3 separate regions of the Homo sapiens genome follow, and regions 1 and 2 are each linked to region 3. The links are contacts of gene promoters, found by promoter capture Hi-C in blood cells and fetal thymus (Javierre and others, 2016). All regions are on one chromosome and are shown on one strand. Each heading gives the region's core, a stretch centred on a gene start or on the middle of the fragment in contact. The rest is flanking DNA. Distances are from core to core; before and after follow the strand shown. Region 1 overlaps SPATS2L (spermatogenesis associated serine rich 2 like). Region 2 overlaps LOC124906112 (a long non-coding RNA gene). Region 3 holds the start of SPATS2L (spermatogenesis associated serine rich 2 like).

Region 1 (3,467 bases), core at 69-2,568, 130 kb before region 3:
GGTTTTATTCTTTGTTGAGGTTTTGTTTTACATCATTCATAGTTTTGGGCCAACTTCAAACTCCAGTGAATTATGTCTATCAGGTTTCTTTTTATTCAAATACTTTATCTTCTTTTTTATTCCCAAGATACATGCTACTGCCTGCAGGGCTTAACAAAATTTGCTGGAGAGTTATTCTGTGATGTTTATGTATTAAATAAACAACGTTTTCCATCTGATACTTTTACCTGTTGGAACAGCTCAAGCATCACAAATTTATGGTTCCTACGTTGAATCACTCACCAGTTGTGTAATTCAGCAAAGGCAGCTTTGATCTTCTTCACGGAACTATCCACTTCTTCCTTAATCATGACGCGATATCTAGTTAGAGAAACGGTGCAGCGTTGCAAATCCTTCACTGATTTCTCAATATTTGGGCCTAAAATTGATGTCAAAAAATATTATTAACTTGAGCATTTAATCCTTTGTTTGTAAGCTAAACAACAAAACAAAGCAATTAGCCCACCAGAAAAAGGGACTCATCTTTTGTCTAGTAAAAGTTCCATCAGGAGAATGTTTGTAACCCAGTGTGGGTGGCTTGTGTGGCACCTGAGGCTGTTATGATTTCACCAGTGGGGTCTCTGACTGGGCCATCTGGGGTACGCTTGTCTCCTGCACTCTTTGGAAGGAGGCTGTCATCATTATATTCTATCACAAACTGCAGTGCCTTAGAATCTGATACGTCTAAAGACCATTTGTGCTGCTGGCTCTCTCTATAAACACCACTTTGCGTGGTTAAAAGCCAGCAGGGCTTTTGGAAGAGGAAAATGACACAGAGACTGGGAGAGGTACAAATGAGATAGAGAGAGGATGGGGCATCAATGCCAGGTACGCTGGCACTGGCCCCATCATCCGAAGCCAGGCCTGTAATTAGAGCAGCAGCATTGAAAGCAGCTCTATGGGTGCCCATCTCGCCTGATTTCCTGCAACTGTCACCAGGGTCTACAGATAGTACATCACAAACAGGCAGATTGTACTTATCACAATCAGGCCATGTTTGGTAGAAGAAAGAAATCCCCCTCAAGAAAAATGAGAAAGTAGATCAAACCAAAGCCAAGGAAATCAGATACAACTGAGGCTGAATGAAAAGAATAGTATTTAATCTTCTGGGAATCAGAAAGGAAGTGATTTTCATTTTTAATACCAGTTACGTATCAAGTATATCCAAGCTCAGAAAAATCATAAAAATCCAGCGTGTCAAATATAAAACCCTCTTTCAATGTTACATTGTGTGTAAATTCTAACACAGAACTGAATTTACATTGGGAAGACCATATCTGAAGAACATATACCAGCCTCCAGACTCATCTTTGTTCAATGCAAGTCAAGCAATTGTGTATCAGGGAAACATGAGTCCCTTTTAGCAGTTACATTTTTAAAAGAGCTCCTGAATGAGCACTTGCTTTATAAGATATTAGGATAGAAGGTACTTGTGGTGTAAGTTTATCCATGCCTACAACAAGAATGGTCTCAGAGGGGCAGAGAAAGGAGATGTAATTCTATTTAAATATTCAAGACCTTTGATTACATGGGAGGAATCACCTCTGCCTTTCCATCTATGTGGGTCACAGAAAAAAAAATGCAATTTCATGTGCATCTCTCTTCACTAAGCAGCATCTTTTGGAAAGTTCTGTCACTCTGGCACTTTTCTGTATGTGCAAAATATGTTGAATCATTTGTGCAAAAGAAATCACTTTACCTCTTTTCTTTGCCAACTCATCTGGCTTTATTTCAAGATGAGCTGCAGGGGTATTGGACTTAACAGGAGATGTTTTTGCCTTAGGCTTGCTTGGGTTACAAGGCTGCTCAGCTGACCACTGTAGGCCATCTGACCTCTCTGTTGTTCCATGTATAGGTTTGGGGTTCCCATCTAAGGATAGTTTCTGTTGCAGTAGTCTGTTGCCTTCTGTAAGAAAACACCAAATAATGACTGTGAAGTGATAAACTAAAAACACTGACGATAAAGTGATGGAGGATGCCAAGATTTTTGTTTTTGTTTACATATTGGCAATAATGCCTTTCATTGCAAACAGTCAAGAAACTGTTTTAAAAGAATCCCCAGAAGATTAGAGGGTGTACTAGAAGAGCCTTGTATTTTGAGTAGAAAGACCTGGGCATGTTTTGGCTCTGGTAATTACTTGCAGAGTGACCCTGGGCATCTCTGAGCCCTAGTTTCCTCATCCATAACTATCCAGGAAGGTTATTAAGAGGCTTATAGAAGATGAGCAGTGCCTTTTCCCCCCTGCTATTCCAGTAAAGGCTTATGAGTCTTTTAAGTACAATTTCATATTGAGGCTATAAAAATGTAGCCCTCCTATCTCCAAGTGCTACATTAATGTCTTGTGATATTTCATTCCGAATTAATGAAGGCAGAAGCGTGACTGGAGATAGAGCAAAAATGAAGTGACAACAGATACTATAATCATTGCATCTAATTTATGGAGGGCTTAAATCAGAAAACATCATCATAATATCTCAACTATATTTAAAATCTAGGGAGTCAGATTCTCTCTGGAGATTTAATAGATGTGGCAATCAATTAGCAGGATGTTGCTTTTGGCATCTTTTAAAGGTAGGTTCCCATTTAGTTATTGCTGGAATGAATTAAATAGCATGTTAGTGGCCTGAAACGGAAATGTATCACTCTTAACATCTTACTACCAGAGAAAGTTTTGGGTGTGAGAAAAGGGAAGCCAGTGTGCTCTTGAAGGCCAGGTTCTTGTAGAAAGCTTGATGAGTGCAGTTTTGATCTAGGAGAACCAAGTTCTGGTATTCCTTATGTCCTGGGTGACCTTGTGGGAATGTCTTCACTTGTCTGGCTGACTGGCTTGCACTCAAACAGAACACAGTCATCTTTGTAAAACCCAGCCTTTTCAGATAGTCACCCTTGCCCTGCTTCTCTCTACTCCCATGGTACCTTGCTTTACTTAAAACCATGGTACCACGGTTTTATATTTTAACACAAGGCTTCCATATCTGCCCCTCACCCCTGCCTTGCAGAGGCTGCAATCTTCCCAAGGGCAAACACTGAGTTCAATTCTGTTTTGAAGCCCTAGTACTTGTGTCTGGCTCGATGGCTTTCTGTAGAATTATGATCTAATTAAAGTACATTTGAAACAATTTCATAGAAAAAAATAAAAAACAATGAATATCTTACCTGACACAGTCAGAGACTACACTTGAAAAAATACAAAGGAATATGATCTAGGTCCTAGTCAATTTGATTTTAGACATTAGTCCATTCATGATCAATATAATTAGACTTCAGTTGAATCCATCATTCATAACTTACATATCAAGAAAGCACAACATACTTTCTATGAGCTGAATGAATACCCTTAAAAATTTACTCACAGTACACAAAATGTTCAGCAAAGGTAGTAAACAAAGTACATAAGTACTGAAAACAGCATTTCCTCCAGTAATAA
Region 2 (3,830 bases), core at 58-2,557, 250 kb after region 3:
TTTGAAAATAAAATGTAGAACTTTTCTCCTACTGAGACAGTCTATTAAGCCACAGTTATCTCTATTTTGGAGGTTAAGTACCAACAACTTTGACTGACTGAACCAGATAATTTAGGAAAAGTATCTAACCTTATTTCAGCCCACACATTTATGGGATAAGCCATAAAGTTTCTAGATGATCTCCGGTTGTCACTCTTTCTTGGTAGGGAAAAAGAATGCAGATTCAAGAGATATTTTCCAGCATTAAGCTCACGTATCTAGTGTTTATATGTTGGGTGAAACCAGCCCTGCCATTCAGACCACAACAATGCAACCAAAAATTAGTGGATAAACCAAAAGCATACACTCATCAGCTCCACTGAGAGAGAACAACCACCTCTCAAACAGCCTGACCTGGGAAGTTTGTCCAAAGGGTGGTTCTACGTGAGACAAGGTAAGGGATCCCTATCAAGTCTTTTCTTTGGGGACTATAAATACTAATTATGAAGTGAAGTTAGGTCTCATAATGCCAGGCAGCATTATGTGGTATATTTTTCCATTTTGGAAGGTCTAGAACAAGGAGTATTATGGCTTGCTAAAAAAGATCATATTCCTTATCATGTATCCTTATCATGAATCCTCATTACTGAGAGTAACTGAGTCAAACTAATACTCTGTACTAACAGAATTAGTTGGGTTATATTCCGTCCCTCGCTTCCTGCTACCCTTTGTACTCAAGTAAACTAGAATAACATACTATTCAATTAATATAATTCTGTTTGGAATTGCTTCATGCACTAAATTTCCCCTATATTTGTGCAAGATAAGTCGGAATTTTCTCCTATTAATGTGCTAAATTTGGTGGAAAATGTAAGGTGTTTATAAGGTCACTTAGCCTCTCAGTGATGTAGCCAGCAAAATGTGAAAGACAATGTTTTTAATTGCCCAGAAATACATTCTGGCTCTGGCAACTTAATTCAGAAAAGTCCTCTAATGATTATGAAACAATAGTACACATTGCAATACATCAGCTTAAAAAGACAGTACGAAGGAAAGACAATTTACAATTTCCAGATCTTTTCTAATTCAATGTCTACAAGCTTCTAAAAGTCTCTAATAGGGTCTCTATAGGACAAACTTTTAAGTGCATTTTTTGTTTGGTTGTTTTTTTTTTCTAGTTCCCTGAGGGAAAACACTATCATCCCTTTGTCGTCATTAAAGGATATAAGGTCACTGGGTAGCATCATATTTGCAATAAAATGAAGTTATTATGTTAAATGATTTAAGCATAGTAATATAAATCTAGGTTTTATTTTTTAACAACTCAGTCATGACTGTCTTGTTTTTTAAGCTATGACCTCCTCCTTTTCTTTTTGTTCATTCTTTCTGAGTTAAAAGTAGATCCAACTAGGAAGAGTTTGTCATTGCCTGGTTACTAGTCAGCAAGATCACCAAGATACAGGCTTAAAGTTACCTAAAAGACCAACGTTCAAGTGCCTTTATGTAGATAGATTTTCAACATTGACATTGACTACGTCATACTAATCAGAAGCTTTGATAGGCAGTTATATAAACTTTGATGAATTTTTAAAGGGGCAGGAGGAAGTCATGAATGTTTACTTAAGTGAAACTTAATAGACAAAAATCTCTTTGAACATGGTATTCAGGAAGGGCAATAATTTTTTAAGGTCTTTGTAGGTAGAAAACAATAAATAAACACCGCTGACTGAAAATTACACAGATAAAGCAAATACAAGTTCTTTTAAAAAATATATTTTAAAAAAGAAAGAAGGAAACTGAGAGGAGAAAAGAAGGCCAGGGAAAGAAAAGCTGAAAAAGAGATAATAATGGAAACAAGTAAAGGATGGGGAGGAAAATTAAAATGTGGTAAGACTATAATAAAATGTGGGAAGGGTCAAGCATGTCACCTTCTCTTCCAAATTGCCTTTGTAGAGATGAGTTCTTACTTTGACGTCTTTATCTGAAACCTCTTTATAGTTGGGAAGACCTATGTTAACCAGCACAGAATCAAATGCTACTCAATTCTTTATCATTGGATTTTGAAGTCATAGTGAAAAGAGTACAACCCTGAACATGTAAAGTCTAACTGGAAACCAGCAGACGTGATAATAATCCTTACCTCAGCTGCAGAAAACAAAGGATTCTTGAGGCCATGTGCCCCTGCCTTCCCACTTTGATTTTATGGAATAGCAGAGCAATGTAACAATGCAAAAATCCTTTGGTTACTTTAGAAGAACCACAAAGATGGGTTCACATATGGATTATTGGACTTTATCATGCAGTTTGGCTTTGCCAAATTTGGATATGATATTCCTATATAGATGGATCTGTTTTGCTTGGATAATGAACTATCATTTTATCACTCCAAAGCTTTGAAAAACATTTATGTTAGCCTCTCCTCTTCACACATGATCATGATAAAGAATATAAGTGATCATGTTTAGTGCTTTATAGTCAATGTCTCGAGTTTAGCCAAATAATTGTCATTCAGTCATCCATTCATTCAGCAAATATTTATTAAATGCCTGCAATGTGCCAGCTGCCATCTTAGGAGGCAGTGATTCAGTCATCAACAAGACAGACAAGGTCTCTGACTATGAAGTGTTTGCTACACAGAAAACCAACGAGATAATTGTCTTTTTACTCTGATCCAGAACTAATTGATTTACCCTCACAGTTAACCACAAAGCATTTTCACTTTTTGCAAAGTTTTAAAAACTCTCAAATAGGGAGGACTGGTAGGTGAGGAGAAATCATCATGGGATAGGGCTCAAAAAAAAAAAAATACCATGATCCTATGGGCCAACTGCAGCTAGGAGCATAATTCCTTTCATGCAAGACCGTATGGCTTTCAACATGGGCACTTCCCTCGCTAATCGAAATTTCAAAGAACACAGAAGACCATTTAATAGGATTATTGCTAAACCTGTTATAGATTAAATTCTCTGGCTGTCTGACACCATAGTAACTAGCCCAGATTTGTATTTACAAAGAAGAGGTGAGAAAAATTCCTTCCTGATAGGAACAAGAGAGCAGAATATCCTCCCTCTTCCCTTGCCTCAAAAATAAATAAATAAAATAAAACTAAACTAAAAAGGAATAGGAACATATGCCAGGAAACAGAAACCCCACCTCCAGTTTACTGTTGGCAAAGTTCAAATGCACCAGGGAAGCTCACCAAGCAATTTCCCCCGGTGCCCTCTGAAGCAAAACCCCACTGGCTGTTGTTTCCAAAGGCTCACGGCCAAGATCTTAACATTTCTTCCTGAATGGCAGGAACAATAAATATCTGTCTCTTGGTGACACAAATGGTTAAGCATTGACAGAATTTGATATAGAAAGTACTAAAAGCCCTCCTCTGGGTTGTAACCACTAATCTTACTGTACCTTCAGAGATTGAGGATGGCAGCTACTGACAATGGCAGCCCACCAGCAGCAAAATTATGTGAAGAGAAAAAATTACAAACTTGTATTTCCACCCTAAAATAGGTGGTATTGGGAGGAAATACAGATCAGCTAAAATGAGAGCAAGTAAGCCATATTCTTTTAAAACATGATGGGTGATACCTTTACATAGACATGTGTGCACCCCCAAGCTAACTAATGTTCAGATGAAGCTGTCATTCTAACATCAGTACAGGAGACAAAGATGTTCATAAATAGAAAACTATGTAAGTAAGGGTTTAAGCAAACAGCTTTTCCTGACACCTATGAAAAGTGTTAAAACTTATTTCTGTATTGACTTACCATCTGGGAGGATATTCTGTAGCTTTCCAAATGGGTTTCTAATAAGGTCAAGTCCATTTTCAGGGCTTAAGACAGACTGTCTG
Region 3 (3,723 bases), core at 609-3,108:
TGCTGCTCCATACAATAGGTTTTAACACAGCTTGAGCTTATTCCAAAACTCTAATTAGAAACTGCAGTATTTGCCTTGTCCAAATAGAAACCCATTCCCAAAGTTGATTTTTCCCCAGTTAAAATTCAACAAAGAATATCATACACAGATATTTTTAAACACGACAGTTACTAGATAAAACTGCCCTATCTAACAACACATTGCTTTCTGGTTAAGCAACACAATTTCATAAGGCCTATCAAATACTTTATCCAGACGGCCACTCTATTTTCAGGGTATTGGTTGTATTATTTGAAGTCTTTTTTTTTTTTCAGAGTGAAGAGATTTCTGACTTCCTGTCCTCTTCCCTGCTATATTACATACATCTGCTTAAACTCTGGAAAACAGTACCAGTCAAAGTGGTGCTGAAACCTTCCTTTAAGACAAACTAAAACGATGTTAAAAAGGTTACACGACCTTACTATTTCAAGTACTGGTATAAAACCACTTTCTCTGCACAGGTTCTAAAATTTCACAGTCGTTTGTCTTAAAGTCTGTCGGCTTGTGAGGGGGCTGGTACATATTTTAATATTTAAATTTCAAAAAATAAGCAATGAGACTGTGTTTGAAGTTCAAGGGTTTTCACTAGTTCTCAAGCTACAAACCCTGTAATATAGCCAAAAGAAAACGTACAGAAAGAATCTTTCACGAAAAGTGTCAGGTCTCCAAAACCCCGACATCTGCTAAAACCAGGATTGCGGGGGGGATGAGAAGCTCGTGAAGTTCAAAAACACACCAACCCCGCGGGAACACGAAACCTCCACTCGCGAAGACGCGACGCTTCCGCCGCATCCCCGCGCAGGTGAAGACTCGGCCCTTCAGCCCCGCGTGTGCGGCAGCATGATATTCAGAGTGCGCCGGCGTCCAGCGCGAGCGCATCCTACGACAACCCCGTCTCCCGCTGGGGTCCGCAGCCCGCGGACTCCGGGGTCCCCCCGCCCAAATGCGGCGGCGCGACCGCTTCGTCCCGCGGCCAGGGCGCTCCGCGTCTGCTCCGGCCACCCCAGCCCACCCGCGCAGCGCGGACGCCAACGCATCCCACTCCCGCTGGGCGCCAGGGGCGCGGGGTTCAGTGGGGCCGCGGCCCCCGCACCCGGCTGGGATCCGAGGGCGGGGTGGTCGCGGCTGACGTGGGCTTTGCGGCTCCGGGCCAGAGAGCAGCCTGGGGGACGGTGGGTCTCTTTCCGGCTTGGGAGGGAACGGGGGCGCCCGCGCGGGAGGACGGCAGGCGAGGGACGGCGGCCGCGGGCGATTCAGATCCGGGGCGGGCGGGTACACGTCGGAGCGCGGCGGCCACACGCTCGCCCGGGGAGCGCCACTGTGCGTCCCAGCCGGCGCCTCCTCCCGCTTGCCCGCGCCGGCTGGAGAAAGGAAGGACGGCGACCTTCGCGTCCGGTCCGCGCCACCAGCCCGCCTCGGCGCCGAGCGCGGGCCACACCCAGCGCTCCGGGAGGCGGCGGAGGCTGGGCGGCCCGGGCTGCGGAATGCTCGGCCCAGCCGAGTCTCCGTCCCGGCCGCGCAGGCCCCTCCGCGTCCGCCCGCGCCCTGCATCCCCAGCCGGCCCGGCGTGGAGGGGGTCCTGGGCTTACCTCTGTGTCGAGCGCCGGCTCCTCCGTCCCGGGCCGGAGCCGGGGCCCGGGGGCGCGGTCGCCAGGGGAGGCGCCGCGGCGGTGGCGGCCCCTGCGGCTCGGAGGGCGGGCCGAGCGGGAGCCGCTGCCTGGGCCGCGCGCCGTCCGGAGCTCGCCCCGCGCTGCCGGCGCTTGCAGCGGAGGGCGCAGCCAGCTCGGCCCCCGGACTGGATTCCTTCACTGACACAACTCCGGCTCGGCCGCCCCACGCAGGGACACTCCCGCCCCTCGCAGGCTGCCCCCGCCCGCCGACCCGCCCGCCTTCCCCTCGGTGTCACTCACCAGGAGCACACACCCCAGCCGGCGCCCCTCGCTCCCGCTCGCAAACACAGCGCTGCTCACGCCTCTCTCGGGTTTTGTATCCGCTCACACGCACGTTCTGACACAGATCTCGTCCCTCCACACGCCCTCCCTAGCTCCTTTCCCACCCCACTTTCTAGAAGAATCCCAGTACAGCTTCCGCACTTTGCTTGCTTGCTCCAGACCGACTTCCTCGCCTTTCCCCAAACCTCCACTTCACCGAAACTCCCCTTGTTAATGAAAGATTTTGTCACAATCCGCACGTGTTGCAAGAGAATCATCTTCTCCTACCCGAGAAAATGAACTTTGCTCCCTCAGCACTGTCTGCAAATACGAGATGTTTTTCCTTTTAGAAGGTAGTAATGCTTTCTGGAGAGGATCCAAGCTCAAAATGTAAGCAAAGATAGCCCATTCGAAAATGACCTGAAAAATCAGGCGCGGAAAAAGTGCTGGAGCTCGGGTCAGCCCTTGGAAACCCGACCAACCCGGGGTGTTCCGCCGCCTCCTCTGCGCTGCGGGTCTGCACACTGGGCTCCAAACGTGTGTGTAATAACCAAGTTACACATGGGCATCGTGGGCTTCAGCCGTGGGTTTCTGCCTGGGAGTACAGTAGTCGGGAGAGTAAAAGCAGTTTCTCAATCATTATTCATGATGGAAGCACTTTAGATAACACTCTTCTTCCAGAGGCAGTAGAGTGAAATGCAGGCAGCTCTCCAATTCAGGTTTTTATTTATTTATTTATTTATTTATTTATTTAGAAGGGTGACTTCTTAGCTTCCTTTTTTTTTTTTTTTTTTGGCAATACCAATAACTGTTTCTGAGTGGCTCCTTGGCTGTCAAGCTCCTTACAAATATCAGACCAGAGTTTGTTATGCTTCTCGAGCTCCAGACTCTAATGGGCCTCCGAGGGCACTGCAGAATCGTACATAATCCGATGTTCAGGAATTCATAATTTGAAATAAAATACAAACACCTTTCGGATAAAGTTCAAATCTGCTAACATAATGTGGCCCTGTTGACAACGCACTGCTGAAATAAAGAGAGGAGCTAAAACGAAAGGAATTCATTTTCTTATGTGACTTGGAGTGGTTCTTGCTACCTTATAGTCGCCTTGGATTGGTGTGTGGATAATATAATTTATTTAACAGACATTAGCAAGTGCTTTATAAGTACTAGCTCATTTAATCCTTGGAAGAACCCCATCAGGTAGGTACTACTTTTGTCCTGTTTTACAGATAAACTGAGGGCTGGGCCCAGTGGCTCACACCTGTAATCCCAACACTTTCGGAGACCGAGGTGGGCAAATCTCTTGAGCCCTGGAGATCAAGACCAGCCTGGGCAACATAGTGAAACTCCATCCCTCCAAAACAAAAAAACTAATAATAATAATTGGCCGGGCATGGTGGTGCACGCCTGTAGTCCCAGCTACTCAGGAGGCTGAGGTGGGAGGATTACCTGAACCAGGTAGGCTAAGGTTGCAGTGAGCCAGGATCACACCCCTGCGCTCTAGTGTGGGCAACAGAGCCAGAGCCTTTAAAAGAAAAGAAAGAAAGAAACTGAGGCACAGAGAGGTGAAATAAGTTGCCTAAGTTTTTAGCTAGTAAGTGGTAAAGGAAGAATTTGAACCTAGACCGTTGGACCCTGCCTGTGCTACAGAGAGGAAAGCTTGCTTCTAGAAGCCATACCACACATAAAGAACAAACATCCTATTGCTTATTAAATTTAGGTGTAATAAGTAACTTGTAGCCATTTGACT

What was found. Contacts are between HindIII fragments. The CHiCAGO score rates a contact against its expected background, and 5 or more counts as called.
Region 1: a fragment that was not itself captured here is called in contact with the fragment with the promoter of SPATS2L in region 3 in 5 of 17 cell types (endothelial precursors, M1 macrophages, total CD8 T cells and 2 more); the score reaches 8.2 in endothelial precursors.
Region 2: a fragment that was not itself captured here is called in contact with the fragment with the promoter of SPATS2L in region 3 in 1 of 17 cell types (erythroblasts); the score reaches 6.5 in erythroblasts.

Annotation. Positions count from the first base shown.
Region 1 is chr2:200,437,600-200,441,066 of GRCh38, reverse strand. It overlaps SPATS2L (spermatogenesis associated serine rich 2 like), which reads right to left. Exons shown (of 13, transcript NM_001100423.2): 7 at 1,739-1,945; 8 at 283-418. All of the region lies in intron 3 of LOC101927741 (a long non-coding RNA gene), which reads left to right. Among named protein-coding and RNA genes, the nearest start is that of KCTD18, 71 kb to the left of the region's middle. The HindIII fragment of the contact is 2,905 bases long and covers 1-2,770 here.
Region 2 is chr2:200,050,498-200,054,327 of GRCh38, reverse strand. All of the region lies in intron 1 of LOC124906112 (a long non-coding RNA gene), which reads left to right. Among named protein-coding and RNA genes, the nearest start is that of MAIP1, 97 kb to the right of the region's middle. The HindIII fragment of the contact is 452 bases long and covers 1,082-1,533 here.
Region 3 is chr2:200,304,828-200,308,550 of GRCh38, reverse strand. It overlaps SPATS2L (spermatogenesis associated serine rich 2 like), which reads right to left and starts at 1,858. Exons shown (of 13, transcript NM_001100423.2): 1 at 1,629-1,858. RefSeq lists silencers at 894-1,223, 1,244-1,973 and an enhancer at 2,384-2,483. The HindIII fragment of the contact is 4,184 bases long and covers 1-3,634 here.